Regions from separate parts of the Homo sapiens genome. Here regions 1 and 2 are each linked to region 3. The links are contacts of gene promoters, found by promoter capture Hi-C in human tissues and cell types (Jung and others, 2019). All regions are on one chromosome and are shown on one strand. Each heading gives the region's core, a stretch centred on a gene start or on the middle of the fragment in contact. The rest is flanking DNA. Distances are from core to core; before and after follow the strand shown.

What was found. Contacts are between HindIII fragments. The study calls those that stand out against the background at their distance.
Region 1: a fragment that was not itself captured here is called in contact with the fragment with the promoter of PIGU in region 3 in 1 of the 25 tissues and cell types used here (dorsolateral prefrontal cortex).
Region 2: a contact is called between a fragment that was not itself captured here and the fragment with the promoter of PIGU in region 3, in 1 of the 25 tissues and cell types used here (dorsolateral prefrontal cortex).

Annotation. Positions count from the first base shown.
Region 1 is chr20:35,266,054-35,269,033 of GRCh38, forward strand. The region is part of intron 2 of MMP24-AS1-EDEM2 (MMP24-AS1-EDEM2 readthrough); the gene reads right to left. It overlaps MMP24 (matrix metallopeptidase 24), which reads left to right. Exons shown (of 9, transcript NM_006690.4): 6 at 1,152-1,366. Among named protein-coding and RNA genes, the nearest start is that of MMP24-AS1-EDEM2, 11 kb to the right of the region's middle. The HindIII fragment of the contact is 9,806 bases long and covers 1-2,980 here.
Region 2 is chr20:35,447,278-35,450,665 of GRCh38, forward strand. It overlaps a transcript of GDF5 not described here. Among named protein-coding and RNA genes, the nearest start is that of MIR1289-1, 5.1 kb to the right of the region's middle. The HindIII fragment of the contact is 8,774 bases long and covers 1-3,388 here.
Region 3 is chr20:34,675,766-34,679,150 of GRCh38, forward strand. PIGU (phosphatidylinositol glycan anchor biosynthesis class U) reads right to left here and starts at 1,327. Exons shown (of 12, transcript NM_080476.5): 1 at 1,191-1,327. The coding sequence starts at 1,320. RefSeq lists enhancers at 795-1,681, 1,682-2,567 and silencers at 947-1,046, 1,287-1,396. The HindIII fragment of the contact is 20,123 bases long and covers 1-3,385 here.

The DNA.
Region 1 (2,980 bases), core at 1-2,500, 590 kb after region 3:
GGTATTGGGCGTGGTGGCTCACGCCTGTAATCCCAGCACTTTGGGAGGCCAAGGTGGGTGGATCACTTGAGGTCAGGAGTTCAAGACCAGCCTGGTCAACATGGTGAAACCCCATCTCTGCTAAAAAAAAAAAAAAAAAAAAAAAAAAATCACCTGGGTGTGGTGGTACGTGCCTGTAGTCCCAGCTACTTGGGAGGATGAGGCAGGAGAATCACTTGAACCTGGGAGGCAGAGGTTGCAGTGAGCTTAGATCACGCCACTGCACTCCAGCATGGGGGACGGAGCGAGACTCCTTCTCAAAAAAAAAAAAAAAAAAAAAAAAGTTGGAGAGCTGGCCTGGTGCTTCCTGAACATCCAGTTTGAAAAGCTCCCAAAGGTGATCCTAATATGCAGCCCAAGTGAAGAAGCACTGACCTAAGGATGAAAATGTAGAGACGGAAGAGAAGAGGACCCAAGGGCACGCCAGCCTCTAGAGTAGGGCAGATGAGGACACGCAGCCAGCAAAGGAGACTGAGAAAGAACAGCCCATGAGGCAGGAGGACAACCAAGAGAGTGTTTCCAGGAAAGTGTTTCTATGAATCTTGCTGCTCAAAATGTAGTCTTCAGACCAGCAGCATCAGCATCACCTGAGAGTGTGAAGGAATGCAAACTCTCAGGCCCCACCCCAGGCCCTCTGAGCCCTCATCTGCATTTTAGCAACATCCCCAGATGATGCATGTGCTTATTAAAGTCTGAGTCAAGTAACCATTGGATGATCTTGGCAGAGCAGTTGGAGTGGGTGACGGGTAGAAGCTGCACTGGGGTGGGAAAGAGAATAAATGAAGGGGGTGAGGAAGTGGGGCCAGTGCGTGTGAAGGGGGCAAAGAGGGTATGGCCTAAGGAAGAGCGCTGACCCTAAGGAAGGACATGATTGCTCTGTAACAGGAGAGAGAAAAGAGAAGATACCAGATTCGGGGATGGAAAGATGAGAGTCCCATTCTAATGGCTATTTTCATCCATTTTCTCAAAGACTGGGGGAGTTAAACTGGGGAGAGGGAACAGGAGGCTGAACTGGGACAGACTTGTCTCAGAGCTGCCTGGGTGATGCTGAGACTGGCAATGGGAGGCGGGAAACGGCTGCCCCCTCTCTAAGATGCAGCTCCTCTCTCCAGGACCCCCAGCCGAGCCTCTGGAGCCCACAAGGCCACTCCCTACACTCCCCGTCCGCAGGATCCACTCACCATCGGAGAGGAAACACGAGCGCCAGCCCAGGCCCCCTCGGCCGCCCCTCGGGGACCGGCCATCCACACCAGGCACCAAACCCAACATCTGTGACGGCAACTTCAACACAGTGGCCCTCTTCCGGGGCGAGATGTTTGTCTTTAAGGTAGGGCCAATGGATTGGCACCACCCAGCTGGCCCCTGACCTTTCCTCCTCCTCCCCGACATCATGGAGCTGGGGAAGGCTCCTGATTTGGGATTCGATTACAATGGGGCCTGGACAGGAGCTAGCCCAGTGGCCAGGGCATGGGGTCTCTTCCTAGTGCTGCTGGGTGAATCAACTGTTCCCAAGAGGGAGGGGGAAAGATGGGTGATCCCTCACCTCCCCTGGGGTTAATGCTGGGAGAAAGTGCTGGAAGCTGGCTTCTGGTCTGTGACCACCCTTCTTGGGACCTCAGTTTCTCCATCCGAAACCTGGGGGAGTCATTCCTCTAACAAAGAGTGTGTGAAGATCCAGTGAGTACCCGGCTCTGAAGATGGTCAACTTGGAGTAGGGGCTAGGTCAGTGGTGGCTGAGTCTGACTCCAGACCCTACCAAGGCTTGAGGGGCTGCTACTGGCAGCAGCCCAGGGTATATCTTGTCATCTGTCCTCCATCAGCCATGGACTGACAGGGTGGCAGTCTGCTTGACGTGTTGCAGGTTGGGCTCTCGGGGAGTGAACTCTGAGGTGGGGTCTGGAATGCAGGATTTCGATTAGAGAGTACTTTCAGAATCAACATTTGTGAGGGGGAGAAGGAAGCAGGACAGGGAAGAGGGAGAGGTTAAGTGGCAACAGAGGCCCATGGCAGCCTCAGCCACCCCCGCAGGGAGCTCTGGGGCTACGGTGGCCTGTCACTCAGCCTACGTTGGGTCCAAAATATCTGGAACATTATAACCCCTACCTCATTCAATCACTGGATGAGGAAGGGCATCCAGTGACTGAGGAGAGCTCTCTGAAGCAGGGAACATCCCCAAAGGGGCTGACAGTTGAAAACTGCCTGCTGGCCACACTGCTGGCCACTGGGGCAACAAGCCCTTCTCTGAAGGGGATCTGGGCAGGGTGGCTCCATCACACAGGATGGTGAAAGAGGCTGCCTCGCTCCCCTTGTGGAGTTCTCCCAGCACGCACTGAGCACTGCGCAGGAATCGGGCAGCGTGAGTCAGCCCCAGTCTGGCTTCTCACTGAGTGGCTCTAGGCAAGTCACCTGGCCTTTCTTAAGACTCCGTATATCTCAGATCAACTTAACAGAGACATGAAAGTCAAAATAAGGTCAAAAACCTGGATGTGAAAGTGCTTTGTAAAACACCTTTTAAAATACTAGCTTTTGTACCATCTTTTACAAATCATGCTTCTTCTTCTGCACTCATTCTACTTTGATCCAACTGAACCGTTCATAGGCAGGTCCGGGTTTTATCATCCCCATTTACACATAAGAAAACTGAGGCCTGGAGGCTGGGCGCAGTGGCTCACGCCTTGCAATCCCAACACTTTGGGAGGCCAAGGAGGGCGGATCATAAGGTCAGGAGATCAAGACCATCCTGGCTAACATGGTGAAACCCCATCTCTACTAAAAATATAAAAAATTAGCCGGGTGTGGTGGCGGGCGCCTGTAGTCCCAGCTACTCAGGAGGCTGAGGCAGGAGAATAGCATGAACCTGGGAGGCGGAGCTTGCAGTGAGCCGAGATTGCGCCACTGCACTCCAGCCTGGGTGACAGAGCGAGACTCCATCTAAAAAAAA
Region 2 (3,388 bases), core at 865-3,364, 770 kb after region 3:
CCGCGTGTTCTCACTCATAGGTGGGAATTTAACAATGAAAACCTGGTTTCTTTTCTAGACTCCGCAGCAGTGGCCACTGCTCAGGACGCGCTCTCAAGGGCTCCCCCTGCTGGGATACTCGGGAGCTGCACCTTGCTAGAGTTGAGTGTCTCTGGGCCTTCTGTCCATAAGTCAATCAAATTCCTTCCCTGGGCTGCAAATACCTGTACTACAATCTGAAGCTGGAAATTGTATGTGAGTGTTGCGTGTGTCTGTCTGTTGTGGGTAGAGGGGTGTGAATAAAATAACCACATGTTTTACATATTTATTCTAGAAAATATTTTTATTTTTAAAATAATTCTAAAACTTATAAAAAGTCATACATATTAGGAAGAAAAGTAATATGAATTCATGATTTTAAAAATTCAAACAGTAGAAAAGAATGCAAAAGAAAATATTTTCCTCCCACCCCAGACCCTGGGTCTTTCAGTCCTCCCCAGAAGCAACAACTCTGATCAGTCTCCTAGATGACTTTCCACACAATATAGTAACATCAGCTTTTTAAAAACTTTATTAGGCAGGGCACGGTGGCTCATGCCTGTAATCCCAGCACTTTGGGAGGCTGAGGCGGGAAAACTGCCTGAGCCCAGGAGTTGGAGATCAGTCTGAGCAACATGGCACAAGCCCGTCTCTATAAAATAAAAAAAAAATTTAAACACCTTTTTATCGATGCATGATATTCATACCAAATATATTTGATTATAAAATTAAATCATGTTCATTGTAAAAATATTCAAATAATACCAAAGTTTATAAAGTTAAAAGAGAAAGTTCCCCTCTCCCCTCACACCCCAATCTCTCTAATCACAGGAAACCTCTCTAATCACTGGAAACCTTGTTGTCATTCTTGAGCTCAGAAATCTCAGATCCTTGCTGGACTCCTCCACTCCTCCTTCCCTCCATCTAATTCTAATTCCCACTTTGTGTATAAGAACCCTAGCTGGTAAGTACTGTTATCCCCATATTGCAGCTGAGGAATTTGAGGCTCAGAAAGGGAAAGAGGGTTGCTCAAGAACATAAGGCAAGCTGGACGCGGTGGTGCACATCTGTAGTCCTGGCTACGGGACTTTTTGTTTTTTTCAAAAAAAAAAAAAAAAATATATATATATATATAGTTAAGGGCCCCCCCGACTTTTTTTTTTTTTTTTTTTTTGTCTCACTCTGTCACCCAGGCTGGAGTGCAGTGGAGCAATCTTGGCTCACTGTAACCTCCTCCTCACAGGTTCAAGCGATTCTTGTGCCTCAGCCTTCCGAGCAGCTGGGATCACAGGTGCACGACACCAGGCCCGGCTAATTTGTGTATTTTTAGTAGAGACAGGGTTTCGCCATGTTGGCCAGGCTGGTCTCAAACTTCTGGCTTCAAGCGATCCACTTGCCTCCACCTCCCAAAGTGCTGGGATTACAGGCATGAGCCATCAGGCCTGACCAAGGGCCCATTTTTGAGGAAGGAGAGGACCTGGTCCTGTGGGAACTGTGACTGGACATCCTTTATTGCCCAAGCCCTGAGTGATAGTGAAAAGATGTCATCCACTTCAAGAATCTCAAGCTTGGGTACGCTGGTCACTTCGAGCCTGACTTAGTGAGTGAGAGGGGGCTAGGACTGGAATAAGAACTGCCTACTGAGGCGGGGTCAGGACCAGGGAGAAAATATCCAGCTGACAAAGGGAATCCAACTAGGGAGATTGACACAATTCAACCAGATGGTGGCATCAGCAAGAGGAGTGTCCGGCATTCCTAACACATCCCATGCTCTAGCATGCTGCTGTGCCTTTGCACATGCTGCTTGGAATCCCCGCCACCACCCCACCCCTGCCACTTTGCTTAGCATTTTTTTTTGAGATGGGGTCTTGCTATGCTGCCCAGGCTGGTCTCAAACTCCTAAGCTCAAGAGGTTCTTCTGACTCAGCCTCTTGAGTGGGTGGGACTACAGCCACATGCCACCATGCCTGGCTTGTCTGCTTAGCATTTTTTTTTTTTGAGACAGGGTCTTGCTGTGTTGCCCAGGTTGGAGTGCAGTGGCTTGAACACAGCTCACTGCAGCCTCAACCTCCTGGGCTCAAGCGATCCTTCCTACCTCAGCCTCCAGAATAGTTGGGACTACAGTAGTGCACCACCACACCTGGCTAATTTTAGCGTTTTTATCCTTCACAAACAAGTCATAGTGGCCTGATGCTGTGTAGCCAGCTGCTCCCTCTTTATAGAATTTACTACACTGTGTGTGTGTGAACTATTTCTTTACTTGCTTGCCTGCCATGTGAGTTTGTGAACAGAGGCTCTGGACAGAGTTCATTTATTATTGTTCTTTGGGTCCCTCCCAGTGCATAACTCAACTTTTGGCACACAGTAGGTGCTCAATCAATATTTTAAAAATAATGAATGAATGGAACTTCAGCGCGGCAGCTCAAGCCTATAATCCCAGCACTTTGGGAGGCTAAAGTAGGAACATTGCTTGATGCCAGGAATTCAAGACCAACCTGGACAACACAGTGAGTCCCCATCTCTACAAAAAAATTTTTAAACAAATTAGCCAGGACTGGTGGCACAGGCCTATAGTCTTAGCTACTCGGGAGGCTGAGCCAGGAGGATCGCTTGAGCCCAGGAGATTGAAGCTGCAGTGAGCTATGATCAAATCACTGCACTCCAACCTGAGTGAAAGAGCAAAACCCTGTCTCTTAAAAAAAAAAAAAGAGAGAGAGAGAGAATGGGCCGGGCGTCGCGGCTCACGCCTGTAATCCCAGCACTTTGGGAAGCCGAGGTGGGCGGATCACTTGAGGTCAGGAATTCAAGACCAGCCTCGCTAACATGGTGAAACCCCATCTCTACTGAAAAAAAAAAAAAAAGCTGGGTGTGGTGGTGGTGGGCGCCTGTAATCCCAGCTTCTCAGGAGGCTGAGGCACGAGGATCACTTGAACCCAGGAGGCGGAGGTTGCAATGAGCCAAGATCGTGCCACTGCACTCCAGCCTGGGCTACAAAGTGAGACTCTGTAAAAAAAAAAAAAAAGAATGGACTCAGAGGAACAGCAGCAAGAGACTATCGTTTTGGTGCTCCAGACTGTTACCTTGCAGTGAGAAAGAAAGAGGAAAGTGGTTGACTTTTTTTCCCTCTATTTTTCCCTCTCTGTCATCCTCAGCTCACTTTAGTCACTCAACATGTCTCCATGTTAACATGGAGAGGAAGATGGGGGTGGGAAAAGTCTTCTTTGAACCAGTGTAATAGCTGGCTTAGTGCTTTCTGGGCCTCGCAGATGTTTATAGCCATCTCTATCCATCATCAAAGCATCATGGGGTGCTTTTATACACTCTTCAGGGGTTCCCTACTGGCCCCTCTCCTGCAGTTCCCTTAGCAAAG
Region 3 (3,385 bases), core at 77-2,576:
CACTTTGGGAGGCCAAGTGAGACTGCTTGAGTCCAGGAGTTCCAGACCAGCCTGGGCAACATAGAAAGACCCTGTCTCTAAACAAAAAACAAAAACAAAAACAAAAAAACTTTAGCATTTAAAGGACACAAAGGGGACTTCTGGGGTGCTGATACTGTTTCTTGAACTAGGTGCTGGCTACATGAGTGAATACAGTTTTTAAAAATTCATTGAACTCTACACTTACTTAATATGCATTGTATGTATACTGTACTTCAGTAAAAAAAAAAAAAAAAAAGTTGTTTGTTTTTTTTTAATCATCAAACTCTGGCCTAAACCTAGCTTCCACCCCATTACTCCCCTGCTTTGGACATTTCACATCCTTGAACGTTTCTTCATCCTATTTACTTTCTGCTACCTGGAACTCTCCTTTTCTCTAATCTCCCTTTCAAAACCCTACATCCTTCAAGAGTCAGCTCAAATCCCACATTCTGGAAAACTGGAAAGGTAGGGGATAGTTTATTCAGGGTCAGAATACTAAGGAAGGAACTGGGTGGACACATAAAGTATACTTTTCATGAATTATTATAACGATTTGTCTCCCTCACTAGCCTGTGCAGCTACTTCAGGCCAACTTCGCTTTCTCGCTGTAGGCGTTAGTATAAAACAATGTTCGGTGAAGAACTTAGTAAGGAACAGTAACAAAAATTGCCCTGCAAGTCCCAGACTGAGAAGAGACGTCTAAAGCACACGCACACTCTCCTCGCTTAAGCAAAATTGGTCCCCTCATCCCGGACCCCCTCACACATAACCTTTTATCCCAGGGAGCACCCCTGGCGATCCCGCCCCAAATCCCAAACTCCTCTGCAAGCCGCGCTCCACAAGCACCTCCTCCTCTTATTCCAACCCTTCCCACAGACCACACTCCTCGGCTCAGGACACTGAATGGGACACGCCCCCTCAGATCCCCACCACTAGGTGGTCCGGCCCCCAGGGCCCAAACCTCACGACACTGTCCCCACGCCCCGGTCCCCACGCCCCCTCCCCTCACCAGCCCCGCCCTCAGGCCCCGCCCTCTCCAAGAACCCCACGAGACAGTCAGTTAGTTCTCTAGGAACCGCGCGCTGGCGGTCACTGCCCCCGCCTCCCATTCACAGAGGCCGCGGGAGGGCAGGTGGGGCCTGACAGTCTGCTCGAGCCAGTGGCCTCACCTCTCTTCCAAGAGCTCAGTGGGGACACCACCTCCACCCGCTCGGAAATGAACTCGGCCAGACTGGAGCGGAACAAGGCCGCCCGCACTGTCACAGCCACCACCAGCACCAGGACCAAGGGAGCCGCCATGATAACTGGGGCGGGCGCGCGGGCGGGGAGGGAAGGCGAGGCGGAGGAGCCTCGCGCGCTGTGCGCCACGCTCTGTAGTTCCGCGGGTGGGCGCGCGCTGCCGCTGGCGCCGGAGAGGCCAGACGTGGGGACTACGGCTCCCAGAAAGCCTTGCGGCGAGGCGGGCCGGAGCGACGGAAAGCGGGCGCCTCAAGCTGCGTATGCAGAAGGTGGGGCGAAACCTTCTACGATCGCAGGTGTTTTGTGAAGCCGCGCCGCTATAGCGGGGCTGAAACGCTGCTGAAAGTAGAAGCGGAAGTAGTCGCCTTCCTGGGATTGTGAGAGACTTTTAAACAGATGTTAAATTCACTCTTGCGTGTATGTTTTCAATGCCAAAATGTTTATTTTTATTTTTATTTTTATTTTTTTTGAGACGGAGTCTCGCTCTGTCGTCCGGCTGGAGTGCAGTGGCGCGATCTTGGCTCACTGCAACTTCCGCCTCCTGGGTAGCTGGGATGACAGGCGCCCACCACCACGCGCGGCTATTTTTTTTTTTTTTTTTTTTTTGTATTTTTAGTAGAGATGGGGTTTCACCATGTTGGCCAGGTTGGTCTCGAACTCCTGACCTCAGGTGATCCGCCCGCCTCGGCTTCCCAAAATGCTGGGATTACAGGCGTGAGCCACCGCACCCTGCCCAAAATGTTTATGTTTTTTGTTTTTGAGACAGGGTCTCAGTGCCGTCGCCCAGGCTGGAGTGCAGTGGCGCAATCTCAGCTCACTGCAGCCTGGACCTCCCGGGCTCCAGAGTAGCTGGGACCACAGGTGCGCGCCACCACACCCGGCTAAGTTTTTGTACTTTTAGTAGAGACGGGGTTTCGCCATGTTGCCCAGGCTGGTACCTTTTATGTTTTTAAAGAGTGTTAAATGTGTATTTTTTAAAAAATTTATTCTGGCAGTTGTTTGTTAAACGCCAACTATTTTCCAGGCACTATGTTAGGTTCTACAGATGCGTTTTGGAGTAGTAGACTGATTTATTAGCTAGTTCAACAAGTCGCTTAACCCTTGTGTGCTGAAAAATGTGCTGATTATAGGCTAACTAGGGACAGTTGAGGAAGGCTTAGAAATTTTTTTTTTGTTTTGGAAACGGAGTTTCGCTCTTATTGCCCGGGTTGGAGTGCAATGGCGCGATCTCAGCTCACTGCAACCTCCGACTCCCAGGTTCAAGCGATTCTCCTGCCTCAGCCTCCCGAGTAGCTGGGATTACATGCATGCGCCATCACGCCCGGCTAATTTTTTGTAATTTTAGTAGAGACAGGGTTTCTCTATGTTGGTCAGGCTGGTCTCGAACTCCAGACTTCAGGCGATCCACCTGCCTGCCTCGGCCTCCCAAAGTGCTGGGATTACAGGCTTGTGTCATCGTGCCTGGCCGGAAGGCTTAGAAATTTTGCCAGTCGCTTTTAAACACAGGCATTTTTGAAAATTAAGACATATAAACCTACAGTTAAATAACTTATATTGAAAACAACGGAATACATATTCAACACGTCACTTTCTAATTATTTTACTACACTTTTTTTTATATGTGCTTTTGAGATTATTTACCACCGCTGTATCAGTACAGCAAATACTATCTCTTTCTCTTCCCAAATGGTGGTGTTCAGTTTCCTCAGGTTGATAGATTGAAAATCCCTCCCAATGCGAGTGTTTACACCACAGGAATCAGCAAACACTACAAATCAGGGGTTTGGGGTTTGGAGAGCCCATTGATAAGCATTAAGCAGCACACTTCATTAATTAATGTATAGTAAGTGCTTAAATATTAGCAATAATAATATTAAATGTGCAAGGAAATTTCATATTTGTGAAGAAAAGGAAACAGGCTGGACGCAGTGGCTCACGCCTGTAATCCCAGCACTTTGGAAGGCCGAAGCAGCCGGATCACTTGAGGTCAGGAGTTTGAAACCAGCCTGCCCAACATGGTGAAACCTCGTCTCTATTAAAATTACAAAAATTAGCCAGGCATGGTGGCCTGTGCCTGCAGTCCCAGCTACTCAGGAGGCTGAGGCAAGAGAATCACTTGAACCTG